2 separate regions of the Homo sapiens genome follow, and region 2 is linked to region 1. Evidence: promoter capture Hi-C in 16 types of primary human blood cells and fetal thymus (Javierre and others, 2016). All regions are on one chromosome and are shown on one strand. The core of a region is centred on a gene start or on the middle of the fragment in contact, and the rest is flanking DNA. Distances in the headings are between cores, read along the strand shown.

Region 1 (4,583 bases), core at 512-3,011:
TTATCAGGAAAGTTTTTATACTTTGTGATAATCTAAGACAGAACTATTCTACCTGGATGAATTATTCTCTTTCATAACCAGAACAGTGCTGTGGGAAGGCACTCTTACTCTCAATTTTATATAAAAGGCTATTTGACCTGCTCAGGGACCACAGTGGGGTACTGGGATCTGAACATAGTGGTGGCCCTTCAAGCCTACTACCCAGACTGAGACCTGCATCTGATCAACTCTCATCTCCAATATGACCAAGAGACTTCTACCACTACCTCTCACCTGGCAGGTGATCACCACCCCCAACTCAGACTGCAACCTTTACTTCGCCCCCTAATTCCTGACTCAGAATCCCCACCTAGAGGCAGAACTTCGACTTCAATTCCTGACTCCCATACCCCACTGAGACCTCTAACCCCAATCCCAATCTCTTAACTCAGAGCCCCCCATTCAGAACCTCTACCCAAAGACAGACTCCAGACCCTGACTCCAGTCGCCAACTCGGACCTCCCTTGGATCTCAACTCAGAGCCATGATGCAGACTCCAGACCGGGATTCAGGTCCCCAACTCAGACTCCCGATCCTCTGTCCCTAATGAGGCCCTACCTAAAACCACCATGCGGACTCCAGACCCGGACTGACTGGGACCCCAACTACTCAGATCCCAACTCAGGCAAACTCCCAGCCAGGATGTGGACCCTAGACCCGAATTCTGATCCCAACTAGGATACCTAACTCAGAACCACAACGGGGATTCCCACCTCCGATCCTAATTCGGGCCCTGACTCAGAACCACTAAGTGGATTTCCGACTCCGGTCCCAATTCGGGCTTTGACTCAAAACCACAACATGGATTCCCAACTTCCATCCCAATAGCGCGGACTCAGAACCACGATGCGGATTCCAGACTCCAATCCCAATTCAGCCCACTCTGAACCACCATGAGAACTATAGACCCGGAATCCGATCCTTGGGACGCGGCCAGGAACTCGGACCTCGACCCTGGCCACGCTGTCCATAAGGTGCAGATGGGAGCGCACTGCCCAGGCCAGGCTGCACTGCTGACGCCTGTGATCTGGGACGGCCGCGGGGCACACAGCTCACCTCAGCAACGCCAGTGATCACCCGTCCCGCGCCGTCCGCCCAGGTCCGTGCTGACCGTGTTCAAACCCTCCCAGAGAGATGGGGAGGGCCGCGCTGAGGAGAGTCTGGGAGAACCGCACTGAGGAGCCGCCGGGAGAGTGCCGCGCTGAGGAGCCCCCGGGGAGAGTGCCGCGCTGAGGAGCCCCCAGGAGAGTGCCGCGCTGAGGAGGCCCAGGGAGGACCGCGCGGAGGAGAACCATGCTGAGGAGCCCCCGGGGAGAACAGAACCGCGGCGAGAGGCCCCCGGAGAGAACCGCGCCGAAGAACCCCCGGGGACAACCGCGCCGAAGAACCCCCGGGGAGAACCGCGCCGAAAAGCCCCGGGTGCCCCGAGGAGAACGGCGCCGAGGAGTCCCCGGGGAGAACTGCGCCGAGGAGCCCCCAGAAGAGCGCCGCGCTGAGGAGCCCCGAGGAGAACCGCGCCGAGGGGCGCGCCGGGGAGAACCACGATGACTGACGCACCGAGGAGGACCGCGCTGAGGGGCGCACCGGGAGAATCGTGCTGAGGAGCCCCGGGGAGGACCACGCTGAGAGGCACCCCGGCAGAATCGCGCTGAGGGGCGCCCTGGCAGGATCTTGCTGAGGAGCTCCCTGGAGGTCCGTGCTGAGGCGACGCGGCGACCGTTCTGCCTGGAGACTGCGGCAGCGCTCCGACTGCCCCCGCCGCTGCCGACGTGGCGACCGCCCCCCACCTGCTGATTGGGCGGCAGCAGGGGAAGGCTTGCGGCGGGCTGCTGCACGGATTGGCTGGGTGCGGAAAGTGATGTGCCGTGTCCTGTCATTGGCCGAAAGAGTCTCGTTTTGATGCCACCCGGGCTCAGATTGGCCCAGCGGGTCCAGCGCCGCATGAGGCACTGGCTGGGTGTGAGGTGGCGCGAGCCGCCGCCCTCCCTGCCCCCACCCGTCGTCCCTGAGCACCACCGGGGGCCGGGGCCAGCGCCAGCCTCAGCGTTGGCATCGCCGGGGTGAGCTGGAGACACGGGCCAGTTCTCTGCGTGATGTGTTCACCACCCCGGGGTGACCGCGTGAGGACAGCGGCCGCACCCCGACACTGCTGTGGGCCCTCGGTGTGGAGGCCTGTGGGCGTCCAGGCCACGCCCGAGACCAGCCCCTCCGCCGGCGCCGCTGCAGCGACCCTCGAACCCGGGCAAGGTCTCCACCGCCGTGGCACCGGGTGCGGGAGGCGTTTTCCCCCCTCCCAGCGGGTCCATGCAGGGGATCGGGATGTTCTGAAGCCCCCACTGCTGTGCCTGGAACACCCGTGTCTGCCGCTCACCCCTGAGGACTTGGGACCTCAGGGGGTGAGTGGCAGGGGTGGCCGGGACATGCCAGGCCACCCACCTGGCAAAGGGCAGCGCCGAGGGCGCCCCGCGCCTGCCAGCGCCCGGCCGGGCCCGCCCTGCCCACCTCCCATCCCCCATCCGGGCGTGACACTTGACCGCGTCTGCCGGCCCCTCCCCTTGTCCGTCCCCTCCGCGCCGCTGGCGCGCGCCTTCTGAATGCCAAGCATTGCCATAAACTCCGGGGACAAAAGCCTGGGTCACAAAAGCCCCCTCTAGAAGTTCACACCCTGAGGCTTCCCTGGCAAGGCTGGGGGCCGTTTGGCCCTTCCATGTGGACTGCAAAAACAGTGTTGGAATGCAGGACTCTGGGTATGTTCTCGAAAGTTGTTACAACCCCAACCCAGGGTTGACCTCAAACACAGGAGGAAGGGGGAGGCTGGAGCCAGCCAAGCGAGCCAGCCGTCCCCCCACCAAGGCACGCAAGGAGGCCATTCATCTTCACTGCCTCTGCCGAAAATATACGTCTACGGGAGAGCCAGGAATCTCTCTCCAAGGGTGACCGGGTTGGGGGTTTTGTTGTTCTTCAGCCCAGAAGAGAAAGAGAAAATGGTGTCATTTTTTCAGGCAGCAAGTGATTCCTTTCAGGCCTTCAGCAACGACGCCCAGATGAGTCCACTCCCTGCCTCCTGCTCAGCCCACAGGCAATCTGGGCACAAGTGACACATCCCCTGGGCGCCTGTCCCTTCGCACTGGCCCAGGGAGTTCATGTGTCTGATCAGAGGGCGCAGTCCACCCTCACTATCTAGCTGGGAAGTTTTTGTCATCTGCCTGTCCGAGAGGCAGCTGTGCAACCAGTGCCATCACTCAGAGCCAGTGCTCAGGTGCACCCCAGACTCAGGGTTTCACGCTATAATGTCACTGTCTTGAAATTCTTGATAGTTACTATCTTTGAACTTGTGTTTTAGAAGTGAAGTCTGAGGGGAAAATGGAGCTTGGAACTTCAGCTCCCAAGTGGCTTTCCCACCTTCCTGCCTCCTCAGGACAGATTATCAGCTGCCTGTCTGCCTGCTTCCTCTGTGCCCAGCCTCTCTCTTGACATCCAAAGGATCACAACTCCCACTCAGTGACCACTATTATTCTCTGCCCCTGACCAAAAAGAGCAGGGCAGGGCTGGAGTCCTGACCCTGGCCTGGACTCTGCAATGCAGAGATACCTGCAAGTCTCATTTCCCCGCCTGTAGGATGGAGGTGATGCTGACAGCCTCTTGGAGCCATTGAGATAGGAAACGAGAGAGATTATGTGAGAAGACAGGGTCAGGAATGTTGAGTTGAGGGTGGCCTCAGGCCCCTGTCCTGCTCCTTTTTGCTGCTTGGGGTGCAGCTCAATTCCAGCCTCACTGTGGCCCCCAGGCCTCCTCTGGCCTTCCTCAGCCTTCCTCAGGAGGCCAGAATCCTCCCCTGATCACCCTCCCTGCATGTCCATTTCTACCTCCCCAGGAGGTCAGGGGAGCAGGATCCCAGGTCTTCAGAGTCATTTCACAGATTTCACCAGAATAAAAGTCCCACTCATGTGGGGTTTACATTCTGGTGGGAAAGACAGATTTTCGAAACGTGGCCATTTTTCTTTGGGCCTTTGTTAGCTGCATCAGATGGAGGAGGTAGCCTGGTGGACTCCTTCAGTCCTCGCTCTTGGACACAGAGCTGTCTCCCAGCCTTTGTTGTTGTGTTCTCCAAGGATGTCGAACACAGGCTGAAAAGCTCCCTAAATCAATTTCACTTAAAATGGTGTCCACCCTCCTACTAAAGAGTGACAAAGGGTGTTGGTTAGGATTTTTATCTTGAAAACTGATTTGTAAAGTCATGAAAATTGAGCTTATTTGGTCTTACACTTAACAAAACTGTGGGTTCTAATTGTGGGCCTGGATGGGGACATATCTTACAAGTAGTTGATTCATTTATATAGATTTTCATGTTCTGGGCTTGCCTCCACCCTCTACCTAACCCTGGAACCTCAGACCCCAAGCTCCTGGGCACTTGGATTTTTCCCTGACAAATTCCCCGCCTGTGATATTCCATGGGCACCTCACCTTGTGTGCTTGTGTGAGGTCTCCTTGAGTACTCTTAGCAGTGGGGTTGCCAGGCCAAGGAGCCTGTCACTATTGTTTGT
Region 2 (4,247 bases), core at 565-3,064, 100 kb before region 1:
GTTGATTCCAACCCTCATGGATGACTGAGGGGTTGAAGATTTCAGTGGAGGAAGTAACTACTGATGTTGTGAAAACTGCAAGAGAACTAGAATTAGAAGTGGAGCCTGAAGATGTGGCTGAAATATCATTAGTTATTAGAGAAATGCAAATAAAAAACACAATGAAATACCACGGCCCAATTATTATATTATATAAAATGAGGGAGATGGATGATACCAAGTGTTGGTAAAGATGTGTCGGAGGTGGAACTCTCATATGCTCCCGGTGAGAATGCAAAGTCCAAAGCGATGCAACCATTTGGGAAACAGTTCAGCAGTTTCTTGATGTGTTAAATACATACCTACCATATTCTACAGCGATTCTATTCCTAGGTATTTATCCAGGAGAAATAAGATCATATGCATGCCACCATTTGTACATGGAATATTCATAGCAGCTTTATAAAAACTGGAAACCCCAAACTGGAAGCAACCCAAATACCCATCAACATTTGAATAGATTTTTTTCAAAGTTGTAGTATATTCCTAAAATGGAATACTACTTAGAAATACAAAGGAATGAACCACTGATATGCCTACAATATGGATACATTGCAACATAATTATGGTGAGTGAAAGAAGCCAGACAAAAAAAAAAAGAGTACATGGTATCTTATTTATGTAAAAATCTAGAAAATGACCACTAATATAGAGTGACAAACAAGTCAGTGGTTATCAGTGGTTACCTGGGGATCAGGGGTAGTAGTAGGAGGGAAAAGGACAAAAGGGCACAAAAAAACTTTTGGGGCAGTGGATATGTTCATTATCATAATCATGGCGATGGTTTCATCATGTGTCAAAAGTTACCAAATTGCACACTTTAAACATAAGCAAGTTATGTCAATTATATCTCAATAAAACTGTTTATAATATATAATGTAAATATATAATATATATTTTGCATAGCAAAAAAACATACTGAAAATAATTTTTTATTGATAACCTAAAGAAACCAGTTGCCACTCACCTATAGGCATGGGGCTAATTTAATTGCTATATAAAAACGCTCTTGTAAATCAAGATAGAAGTTAAAGGATATTAAAACAGTTCACAGAAAAGGAAATACCAATAATTCTTAAGAATGAAAATATGCTGGATGACTTCAATTATGACAAGAGAAATGCAAACTAAAGCAATGGGGTTTTTGAAACTTATCTGATTATTAAATATCAAAGAGTTTGATAACACTCTATGGGTATGTGTACATGGAAACTCTCAGTCTCAGTCATTGATGTTAGAAAAATAAATTGATACAAACCTCTGTGGAGATAAATAAGGCAATTTCAATCAAAATTAAAGATGCATATGCCTTTGAATCATTCTAGAAATTTATTCTACACATATCTTACACATTTGCAAAATAATCCATCATCAGGATATTGATTTCTGCAATTGTTAAATAGCAAAAAATTGCAAACCACCGACATACCCATCAGTGGAGGTCTGCTTCAAGTATCATATCTCCGTTAAACAGCCATCAAAACTGTGAAGCTTCACTCTCATCACTGATGCAGGACATCCCTGATATCTGATCCTAGAAATAACAGTACATCTTTCAGAAGAGTATGAAATCTGCCATCATGTGGGGGCAAATACAATGGTTTACAAAACAAAGTTTTATCTACCTTCCTTGTTCTGTGTCTTGGAACTGTTTGAAGAACATTGGGATTATCTTTTCTGTAGAGGTTAAATAGAATTGAGTTGTAAAACCATCTGGGCCTGATACATGTTTTATAGGATATCTTTAGTAATTTCTTTTTAGTCTGTTTTATGATATGTTGTTCTAAATTAGTTTATTGCATCTTTTGGAGTAATTTATTCATTGCTATTTAATTTCCTCAAGCATTTCAATTGTGTTGCCACTTGGTAGCAACTGATTTTTTCCTTTAGTGATTTTATGGTCTTCTCTATCATCTCTTCGTTTTTCTTTTCCTTTATGCCTGAACTTTTGTGGTTTTTCTCCTTTTTTCTTAATCAAGCACATGAGAAATTTATGTTTTATTTATATTTTATTATCAGAAAACTATCTTTGTACTCTTTGTTATCTATTTCATTAATCTAAGCTTTTATAGCTATTAATTCCCTTTTCTTGGCTAACTCTATTTTTGTTTTCTTTTACTTAAGAGTCATAGTTCATTTATTTGAAGTTCTTCTACTAAAGGCATTTTTAAAGGCTATAAATTTTCCTCTGATTGCAGCTTTAGCTGTGACACGTAGATCTGATTATGAAATATGTTCCTTTTCATTGCTTTCTTGATAGTTTTAATTTTGTGTTTTGATTTTTCTCTTTAGAGTTCTTTTAATGTCTTCTTAATTTTTAAGCAGTAAATTTTTATCACTGTTATTTATTTCTAATTTAGTAGGCTTACAGTGAAAGGATGTAGCCTATGAAGTCTCCACTTTTTTTAAAATGAAGATTTTCTTTGTCTCCAAGTATGAAAATAACATCATTATTTTTGTAAATGCTCCACAGACCTCAGAAAATATCTTCTGTATTTGTATAACACAAAGTTTTATTTGTATACATGGACAGACAAAATGTACATTGAGATGGATTGTGTATACATACTTATTCATTGCCTCATTTAGGTCTGCTCTGCCCTTAGTTAAAAAAAAAAAACCCTAATACATCTGCCAAATTCTGAGACAGGAAAATTAAATCTTCCTGTACAATTATGTTTCTAAAAATTGAGTGGCAGGTTTCATGGAGTGGTTTGGAGCACAGCCTATATGGCCAACCTTCTTTAGGGTCATAGCCCAGCTCTGCCATTTTCTTATGTGGCCCTAAGCAAGCTACTGCATTCTCTGTGCCTCAGTTTCCACATCTGTGAAATCAGGATCCTAACTGCCTGCTCCCAGGACTCCTGTGTTGACTGAGTGAGTTAGAACATGTAAGTGCTCACCCAGGACCCATATGCAGCAAACAGTCTTGTGTCTCTGTCTGCTGCCAAATTGGCCTCAGGCTCTATCAATACCAGATCTGAATAGGGGCTATTCTTTCTTTTAGTGTCCTTAATGTTGTATTACTTTCCAATATTCACACTTTAACTTTACAGATGAGTAGAATGGAATAGATGTGTTTCAGTACAGAACTTTTTTCTTATGTTTGCTTGGGCTCCCCTCCTCTCTGTTACCTATGTTGATAATCTAGGATTTGTTGTCTTACATTTTTCCTGATGTTCATATAATATTCAATGAAATAAAATACATGTGACATAATGAAGGCATTATCATTGTTTTCCAAACTCACGGGATCATATCATACCTGCTTTCTGCATCTTGTTTTTCTCAATCAGTAAAATAGTAAAAATGCCTCTAAGGCTGCTGAAACAATTTTATTTTGATTTAATTCTATCTCTAATTGAATTTTATTTCTATTTCAATTCTATTCTAAAATTTATAATCTCTGCTTAATTTCCTTTGGTGTACATACTCTGTGATGTTCTCTATCGCTTAAAATTCATTTTGTTCAAGAACATAGGTTCTTGAACCTGTTTCTATGTACAGAACTTTTATTTCTATGTGTTAACTTTCCAGGATGTATTAGTTTGCTAGGACTGCCATAACAAAATACCACAGGCTGGGTGGCTTAGACAGCAGACATGTATTTCTCACAATTCTGGAGGATAGAAGTCTGAGATCAAGGTGTCAGCAAGGCTGCTTTCCCTGAGGCCTCTTTCCTTGCCTTGCAGATGGCCGCCTTCTTCCTGTGTCATCACATGACCATTGCTCTGGGCACTTGCACCCTGGTGTTTCTCTGTGTGTCCAAATATCCTTTTCTTTAAGGGCACCAGTCACACTGGATTAGGGCCCACCCTAACAGCCTCATTGTAGCTTCATCACCTCTTTAAAGGTCCTGTCTCCAAACATGCTGAGTCACGTGCCGAGGTATTAAAGACCAGGGCTTCAACTGCAAACCTTGTGGGACACAATTCAGCCCGTGACACAGGAATAGGCTTGTTAATTTCAGTGATGTAGCCAGGTTGTTTTTCTCGTTTTGTCTGACCTTGAATTCCACAGGCAGGGTTCCTCTTTCCCGGCCGGCATTCCTGCCCACCAGTCCTGGCAGAGTGACTTATTGTCAGCCAAGTGGGGCAGAGTTTCTCCACTGTACCTCTATTGAAATCTAGTGCCGGATAATTCTTTGTTGAGGGAGGAAGTCCTGTCTATTGCAGGATGTTTAGCAGCATCTCCGGCCTCAGTTATGA

The links. Contacts are between HindIII fragments. The CHiCAGO score rates a contact against its expected background, and 5 or more counts as called.
Region 2: a contact is called between a fragment that was not itself captured here and the fragment with the promoter of KCNQ1OT1 in region 1, in 1 of 17 cell types (M1 macrophages). The highest score is 5.4, in M1 macrophages.

Annotation. Positions count from the first base shown.
Region 1 is chr11:2,698,233-2,702,815 of GRCh38, forward strand. KCNQ1OT1 (KCNQ1 opposite strand/antisense transcript 1) reads right to left here and starts at 1,762. Exons shown (of 1, transcript NR_002728.4): 1 at 1-1,762. The region is part of intron 11 of KCNQ1 (potassium voltage-gated channel subfamily Q member 1); the gene reads left to right. RefSeq lists silencers at 1,896-2,165, 2,176-2,245 and an enhancer at 1,963-3,202. The HindIII fragment of the contact is 24,274 bases long and covers 1-4,583 here.
Region 2 is chr11:2,595,963-2,600,209 of GRCh38, forward strand. The region is part of intron 10 of KCNQ1 (potassium voltage-gated channel subfamily Q member 1); the gene reads left to right. Among named protein-coding and RNA genes, the nearest start is that of KCNQ1OT1, 100 kb to the right of the region's middle. The HindIII fragment of the contact is 572 bases long and covers 1,529-2,100 here.